3 separate regions of the Homo sapiens genome follow, and regions 1 and 2 are each linked to region 3. The links are contacts of gene promoters, found by promoter capture Hi-C in blood cells and fetal thymus (Javierre and others, 2016). All regions are on one chromosome and are shown on one strand. Each heading gives the region's core, a stretch centred on a gene start or on the middle of the fragment in contact. The rest is flanking DNA. Distances are from core to core; before and after follow the strand shown.

The links. The method cuts DNA at HindIII sites, captures the fragments that hold promoters and counts their contacts. A CHiCAGO score of 5 or more calls a contact.
Region 1: a contact is called between a fragment that was not itself captured here and the fragment with the promoter of AMBN in region 3, in 1 of 17 cell types (fetal thymus). The highest score is 5.3, in fetal thymus.
Region 2: a contact is called between a fragment that was not itself captured here and the fragment with the promoter of AMBN in region 3, in 1 of 17 cell types (fetal thymus). The highest score is 5.1, in fetal thymus.

What each region holds. Positions count from the first base shown.
Region 1 is chr4:71,250,677-71,253,376 of GRCh38, reverse strand. The region is part of intron 2 of SLC4A4 (solute carrier family 4 member 4); the gene reads right to left. Among named protein-coding and RNA genes, the nearest start is that of SLC4A4, 65 kb to the right of the region's middle. The HindIII fragment of the contact is 277 bases long and covers 1,162-1,438 here.
Region 2 is chr4:71,562,468-71,565,167 of GRCh38, reverse strand. It overlaps SLC4A4 (solute carrier family 4 member 4), which reads right to left. Exons shown (of 26, transcript NM_001098484.3): 24 at 1,279-1,375. Among named protein-coding and RNA genes, the nearest start is that of GC, 220 kb to the left of the region's middle. The HindIII fragment of the contact is 529 bases long and covers 1,113-1,641 here.
Region 3 is chr4:70,590,853-70,593,552 of GRCh38, reverse strand. AMBN (ameloblastin) reads right to left here and starts at 1,297. Exons shown (of 13, transcript NM_016519.6): 1 at 1,180-1,297; 2 at 158-226. The coding sequence starts at 1,194. The HindIII fragment of the contact is 2,262 bases long and covers 1-1,842 here.

The sequences.
Region 1 (2,700 bases), core at 51-2,550, 660 kb before region 3:
GAAAGGTTTTTTAAATTATATTTACCCAAATCTGCATAGTACATTTGATCAAATCATTTAATAGACAGTCTATATGGGTGGATAAGATGCTAAGGTAAGATTACTGGCTAGGAAGTGTCATCATGGTCAATCTAATGAAAGAGTTAGGCCAGTTCAGAGAGTGAGCCATCAAACCCTGGAGAGAAATGCACTTGACTTTTTGGAACCTACTTTGAGTTGTCATTATCACATAAGTGGTGCCATTTTGTTCACATCGTGATGATAGGCATCCTCTCAGCAACAGATTCTGTCTATCCCCATTTCCTCCAACTCCTCCTTCTTGGTTTTCCCTGTGCACTTCCACACAGGTGTGGGAGCGTTCAGAATTGACACTGCACTGTGAAGTGCTATGGTGCCCAGAGGTCAAGCAGAAATGTTGTTCCTCTCAAGACATGCCAAATTTTAGGCATTTTAAAATCACCTTTACTGGGGTGTAATTTATAAACAATAAAATCCACTCATTTTAATGATACAGTCAATGATTTTAGTATATTTACAGAGTTGTGCAACGATCATCATAATCCAATTTTAGAACATTTCCACCAATCCAAAAAGATCCCTCATATCCATTTGCAGTCACTCTCTGTTCCCACTCCTGTCTAATGCAACCACTCTTGACCACGTTTTAAAACTCTTAGTGATGGCCTCTGCGAAGCTACCATTCTCTAGTACTCATATGGCAATGAACTTTTTGTAGACATCCTTACAGCACAATAAAATACAATATTCCCTGGATGAGGAAGATATTGCCTTCCAACAACTGCCAGAGGAAATCAAGCCACTGAGCTGAGCAATTCAAAACTTAAAGCATCCTCCTCCTCTCACATGTGATTGGTAACTAAATTTTCCTTTTCTGTCTTGTGTTCAGGTAGAGGACAAGGAACATAGTTCCATGGTTAAGCAAACCTTGAGGGGCTCAGGGACAGTGCTTTCTGCTCCATCAGTTACTTCTCAGCCTCTCTCACTTCAGCTTCCTTGCCTATAAGAAGAGAGCAAGATAGCCTTGCTTTGGTGGATGGGGTAATACAGACATGCTGTCTCAAAGGGACAATCAAATACTTAATAAGCTATATGTGCCAAGTAACCAAAACACCGAAAGTAAAATGAGCTGTAATGGAAGCTTTCTCACTGCCCCCACAGAATATCTGTCATCATGATCAATAGAAGCATCATTACTGTTGAAAATATGCTATGATTGATGAGAACATCACATGTGGATCTCAATATTTATTTTCATTAAAATCTCTTTACCTGTTTAAGGGATATGTCATGAAGACTGATGACTATTTTTAAAATTATAACTCATAAAATGACTGCAAGTTCTTAGGGGAGTCACAAAGCTGAGGATATAGTATTGTTTTCCCTGTAATATGAAAAGGAGAAACTTGACAGACAAGCTTTCCAACCCAGCAAGGGACTACAAAACAGTAAGACCATTAAAGAATCAGGGATAGTTAACCTGCTTCTTATACAGAACTTTTTAGGCTAAAAAAAAATTCTCCACTAGAAAACTCAGGAAATACTGCTTCCAAAGATAATGTAAAAAGGAGGAGTGGAAAAAATTTTAAGAGCTATAATGTATGAGGAAGAAGTGATCGTTTTAAATGTTATCAAAATAAATGTTACATTCTTGCTACTGAAACTTCATGAAGTAAAACTACTGGAATCTACATTTGACAGTGTTCATTTAGGTGTGCTGTCAAAGAGCATTCAGTCCTTGATTTGGCAGTGGCTTCAGTATCATGTGTTCAAATAAATACCCTGCATGCCTTTCTCTGACAGATGGTGCAAGTTCCCAACAAACTCTAAATATCTTGGGAATATCTCCCAATCCGTACCACAGCCAGTACTACTGGAAAGAAAACATGGCTTTCCTGGGTATCTCTGAATGTCAGAAATGATCACTACGTGATTCTTGTTTCTTCCCATCCTTACATGCTCCACCCCAGTTGCAAGTAGGAAGTACTATGATGTTAACTCATCCAATTATCCCAATTCCTGAAATATTTCTAACCTAACTTCATACTTCTCATAGTTGCTACAATGTTTTCTGGCAAACAAAAAACTTACACTTAGTAACTCTGGAGCCATTCAAATTAAGGTGGCTTTCACAAATACACATTTTGCTACCAAGGATGATTTAACACTTTGAAGTATGAAAACCTTCAAGCCAGAAAAGGGTTTTAGATCAGCCAAACTACAAATTCTATAGCTGAGTGGATGGTTAACAACATATGCCTCTATATGTAAGATACATCTATTAGCTCCTTCCTGGGAAACATGTTGCTGTGTTTACTGTACATACAGATGATAGCAACTATTTAGTGAATACTTACAAGCATGCCAAGCACTGCGAGGTGTTTTATATCTACCTCCTCATGCAATCCTGCTCCTATCCCCATTGTACAGGTGCAAAAACCACAGTTTGAGGAAGCCAAGGACATTATAACCATTTAACTTTGTATGAAGTGTTCTCTTCATAAAACCCCACAGGAGAAATATGTCTCTGTTCTCAGTATCAAGACTAGTACAGTGCTTCATCACTACTTTGATGGTGTGTTCTGTAAAACATACTATATTTATATCATAAATTTAATAACTTATTATGTCACCTTCCTCATTGGCTGCTAACAAGAGAATAGACAAATTTTAGGCAAACCC
Region 2 (2,700 bases), core at 128-2,627, 970 kb before region 3:
TCCATTTACATAGGGCGTACCCCAAGTAGAGGGTATTTAAACTCCCAAAAATTTTGTAATGGGGCCCTTGAGTCCCTATTCTTGGGCCCACTCCCACACTGTGGAGTATACTATAATTTTCAAATCATCCTTTCATTTCTTCCTGGAAAAAAAAAAAATAGTCTTCAGAGACTCAGCCCCAGCTGACAGCTTGACAGCTCTGACGGCAATCTCATGAGAGACTCTGAGCCAGAACCAAAATCAGCTGCCCCTGCATTCCTGAATGTGAGGAATTGTGTAAGAAAACATGTTTGTTCTTTTAAGCTGCTGAGTTTTATTGTAATTTGTTACTCAATGATTGATAACTAATATACCCATTATTTTTTATCAATAGATATTCATTCCAAACTTTTCTTGATAGCAGTAACCTCTTATTGTAGTTGAGGTGGCATGGTAAAATAGAAATAAAAGTGTCTTAACTGTCTTTTTCTGTAACAGATCAGTGTACTCTGAAGTGCATCTGAATCTAAAAGGATGCATTTTCTTCAATGAGAACGCAAAGTAGAAAGTAGCTTGATGGCAATTGCTACCTGCTATTGGGAAAGTCTGAAATGGTCACTAATATTACTAAGTGGCCTGTTAATTCAATTACAGAAGAGAAAAATGTCACAAACCATTGCACCGTAGTCACCAGGCTATCACCCTAGAAAGATCAGTGCAGTTATAATAATAATTTTGAAATAGCAAAAGGGAGAATGAAGAGATTAGAAAGCAAATGCATATAAGTTATATCTAGAAAGTTGTACTAATACTTCATGATTGCTAATTTAATCAAAATTAAATTTTTCCAAATTCTCAATATTAACAATTGATTTATTGATCACTGAGAGACCAATGATGCAATTTCTCTTTTGAGCTGATTTGATCACTAGTTAAAACCTAAGGAAGACAAACAGTGACAGTGATGTAGTATTATAAGCTGCAATTCTCAATACCAACAGAAAAAAAAAGAAAAATCAATTAAAAACATGGTTATTAATTTAGCCATTGGAAAAACTGGGGATGATTTGGGTAAGAGAAAAGACTACCAAATAAAAATTTAAAAGTTTATGGATAAAAGGAAGAATGAAGCTTAGGGTATGTAAAAACAAAGTTTTATTATAATTAAGTGTAAATCTTCTCATAGAAAAAGGAAAAACAAAATTGAGGGAAAGTTAATGCAGATGGCCATTCTAAAGTGTTTTCTCTGTAAGTGCAAATCATATTCAAGCAAGCATGCAAGAGGTTAGTTCTACTCACTGTCAGAAGGTTTGCTATCGCTTAGGAAAGGTTGCTGTTCCATGATGTCCATTGGAATTTTAATACTTGGAACTTTTTCTGAGTATGGGCAGTCAGACTGTGAAAAAAATGTACAAGAGGTTTTAGAATGTTTTTATTATACAGCCCTTCCTATCTCCTAGCATCGATCAAACCGTTTTCTATAATCATTTACATACTACTAAGGAGAAAAGCCTTATAATTACTTCCAGTTTGCCATCTTTTAACTGCATTCCTTCTTTCCCCCTCACATTTGTTTTCCACTCTTCTAAGTTAATGGTATTGAGTCAATTAAAACTATAACTGCACAAAATAGAGATCGATCTACAACTGAATTGTAAAGCTTTCTATCAGACTCCCAATCAGCAATGTTTATGAGTTGTATGTGTGAAGCAAATGATCTCAATGCAAAAACAGATTAAACATAGGAAACTTCCCAGGTTATAATACGGTCTTGAAATTCTTGTTTTGTTTATGCTGATTCCGTCTCTAGATAAAATCATGACCGATCTTTCCTTCTAGAACAAGTGACAGACTTTTTATATATCCACTATCAAGAAGCCTTCTATGTACACTAGAAAATAAACTTTCCTCTCTTACTTTAAGTACTATTTTATGGATAAAGGTTCATTTCAATTAGCTTGTGCCAAAGATATCTGAAAATGTAAGCAAAACATAAGAAAATAAAATGTTTAAAAAGGTGTCTATGATGGTCAGATAAGCAGAGAATCATAATGGAAATGACAAAACCAGGCAGCTAATCATGGGACTGCTTAAAGAACAAGCCACCTAGCCCAAATTATAATAGATTTCCCAAAGATTACCACTTTGTTTTTTTTAAATGCATTATATTGATTCCAAGTCTATGTTTGGGCTGAAAGACCCAATATATCTCTTAATTAAAAGTACCAAAAAGATGGTTTTTAGTTGAAAATAAAATGAGAATTAATGTTAATAAAATCTTAACATAAAGCCTATTACCTACATGGAAAATTCCTTTATTTATGACTCTAAAGAGGTTAATGAACAACAGTATCCTTTTAGAGAACTAAGATAATGCATTCAACGAGCAAAAAAGAAAAAAAAATAAAGATGCCACACATAAACAATATTAATCTTAAATGTAAAGGGGCTAAATGCCCCAATTAAAAGACACAGACTGGCAAATTGGATAGAATCAAGACCCATCGGTGTGCTGTATTCAGGAGACCCATCTCACATGCAAAGACACACATAGGCTCAAAATAAAGGGATGGAGAAATATTTACCAAGCAAATGGAAAGAAAAAAAAAAGCAGTGGTTGCAATCCTACTCTCTGATAAAACAAATTTTAAACCAACAAAGATCAAAAAAGACAAAGAAGGGCATTACATAATGGTAAAGGGATCAATGTAACAAGAAGAG
Region 3 (2,700 bases), core at 48-2,547:
ACATCTGAGCAACTATGGCTTTTGACTCAATAGGACTAAACCACTGGATTAAATCAAGTGAGTCTATGCGTGGACTCTCAGTCCATATCCCTTCAGTGTTGTTTGGAGTTCGACAATCAATAACCTTTTCTGGGACACACTCTAAAGACTGACTTACCGGCACTGCAAAACTCATTTCCAGGAGGCATAGGATCAGTATCAGGTCCTTCATTTTGAAAAGTGGAATCTAAAACATAATTAAGTTGGAGAATTAAATCAGATGAATTTTTATTCAGAATGGTTAAAAGACAATTTTTGAAAATGAGCCTGAGTCTCTGCTCTTACAAAAACCACCGGGATAAAGGTTAGAAGAACAAAAACAAAAACTAAATGTTACTAAACAACCGATTTGTATGTAGTAGTTTCTGAAATAAATTAACAAGCAATTAAAAAATATCTAAGCACGTTTTAAATGGATCTACAGCCTAAATAAGTATGTAGGAACAACCTCCATCGATATTCTTTGTGATATATTTCATTTCATAAAGTGAATTATGAGTTTAAAAATCCTTCCCACTAAGTAAAATATTGGTCTATAAGGTATTATTCACAGAAGTTTATACTTTGCTTACCCTTTGGGACACATTTTGAAATGCATGTGAAATGTAATGCAACTAAGTCATTTTATAACAAACCTTTATTTGCAGGAATAGAGGGTACATCATTGCATGTTTAGGTAATCTACGTAACCATGACAAAATTTTTCTTTTCAAATGAGAGTAAATTGGCTATCTTAATTTTCTTTGATGTTAGTGGAAAATATGTCTCAAATTTAGCTTTCCTCTTCCTAAAATGAATTATCTTTTAAAATTTATTCTATAAATTCAAAAAGCTCTTTATTCTTACATGAATAGAGATCTGAATAGCCTAGAAATTTACTCATCTTCTAATATTAAAAAGAATTAGGCACTATAATCAAAAACATTAAAAAAAACACAATCTATAAATAAAAGTCTTTTTTTTTTTCTTAGTTGAATGGGTGTTAGGCATGTCATCTCTGGGACATGCTAATGGATTACAACAAGCAATAATTCAGCTACTGGTGACAAATGAAGATAAATCCTCTTTATAAAAGCTGTCAGGAGATAGGAAAAAAAGAATTTACAGGAAACACATGGAAATCATAAAATCCCATTTTACCTTAGATGCTGACATGCACTGTGCTCTCAGGGCCTGATGATGCCAACCAAGATAGTTCTAAGAAAAGAAGATTAAAATTTTTTTCAGGACTGTGCGTGGGACTTGCTCTGTACTTCTCATTCAGGGAAGATTAGAAACCTTTATTTAAAGTGCCAATCCACCAATCAAAGTGAAGCAAAATGGCGAGGGGTGGCGGGGGGGAGTTGGGGCGGGAATCTCTGCTCCTGCAATTAGTCCACACCCTTTTATTGCGTGCAGGGACATTGGCCCAGTAGGGTCTCATTATTTTTAATTGTACTGCAGCCCCTGTACTTATTCAGAGAACTTGATAGCAGGGAAGGCAGTAAAGGAATAATGGACATAGGCTCTGAAGACAATTATTTTGGTGAGCTGGGGAAAATATATGTAAAATAGGTGCAAAACAAAACCTGTTTTGTGCAGGTTTTATCTGCAGATAAAGCTAGTGACCCAATGCTAGCATTCTTCAGGTTTTCACCCTCCTGTTTGTTGTAGTAAAAGAGACTACTGTCCTTCCCCCCAGCACACACAGAGTTTAAAAGAAAACACTAAAATGTTAGATGGAAAATTAATGTGTGTGATTTCTTCCTTGAATTTCCTAGATATTTTCATATCTGGAGATAATTGATTAGAGATAGCCAAGCTTTTGTAAGAAACTACAGTTGGACCCTTTGCAAGAATCAGGTTTACTTCAGGTAAACGTTTGGTGCATTTTAAAAAAAATCTGTGGGGACGGGGACGTAAATCAGAACATTCTCTATGAACCAAATCAATGGGCACAAGTGTCAGTTCACTCTTCAGATAGACACATTCCCAGGCATTAGTATCAAGCCAGGTTAATAAGACATATTTCGATCACTTAAAAGGTTAACGTCAACACAGATTGGTTTTTCTCCGTGAACAGATAATATCTTGGATGTGGATTGAATATTAGCTGCTTTTGTTACTTCTCTGCCCATCCTTGTCTTTCCAAAGTTGTGATTTCAGATATGGTAGGGATAAGCATTTAAGATTAGTTCTGAAGAAGGGATGAGTCAGTACACTCTTTAGGGAAGTAGGGATCTTGTCAATTACAGGGAACATTGAGGAAGCTGGTATTTTGAGAGAAAGCTGTATCCATACCCAAATGTAGGCCTAACAGCTTCAAATAATGTTATCTTAGAAGCTGCTCCTGAAAACCTCTGTGTTCCACTGATACCAGAATTATCTTTAGGATGCAAAGAAATGAAGAATGTGAATGTGTTTTGCAAACAGCAAAATGTTATTGAAATGAAAAGTATTATTTTTCATGCTGTCTCTGGTGCTTGATGCAGTCCCTTAATCTCTTTTGAGCCCCAGTTCCTTCTTCTGTTATGTAAGGATAATAATTAATGACCACAAGCTAGTCTTTTTTTTTTTTGAGACGGAGTCTCGCTGTGTTGCCCAGGCTGGAGTGCAGTGGTGTGATCTCAGCTCACTACAACCTCCGCCTCCTGGGTTCAGGCGACTCTACTGCCTCAGCCT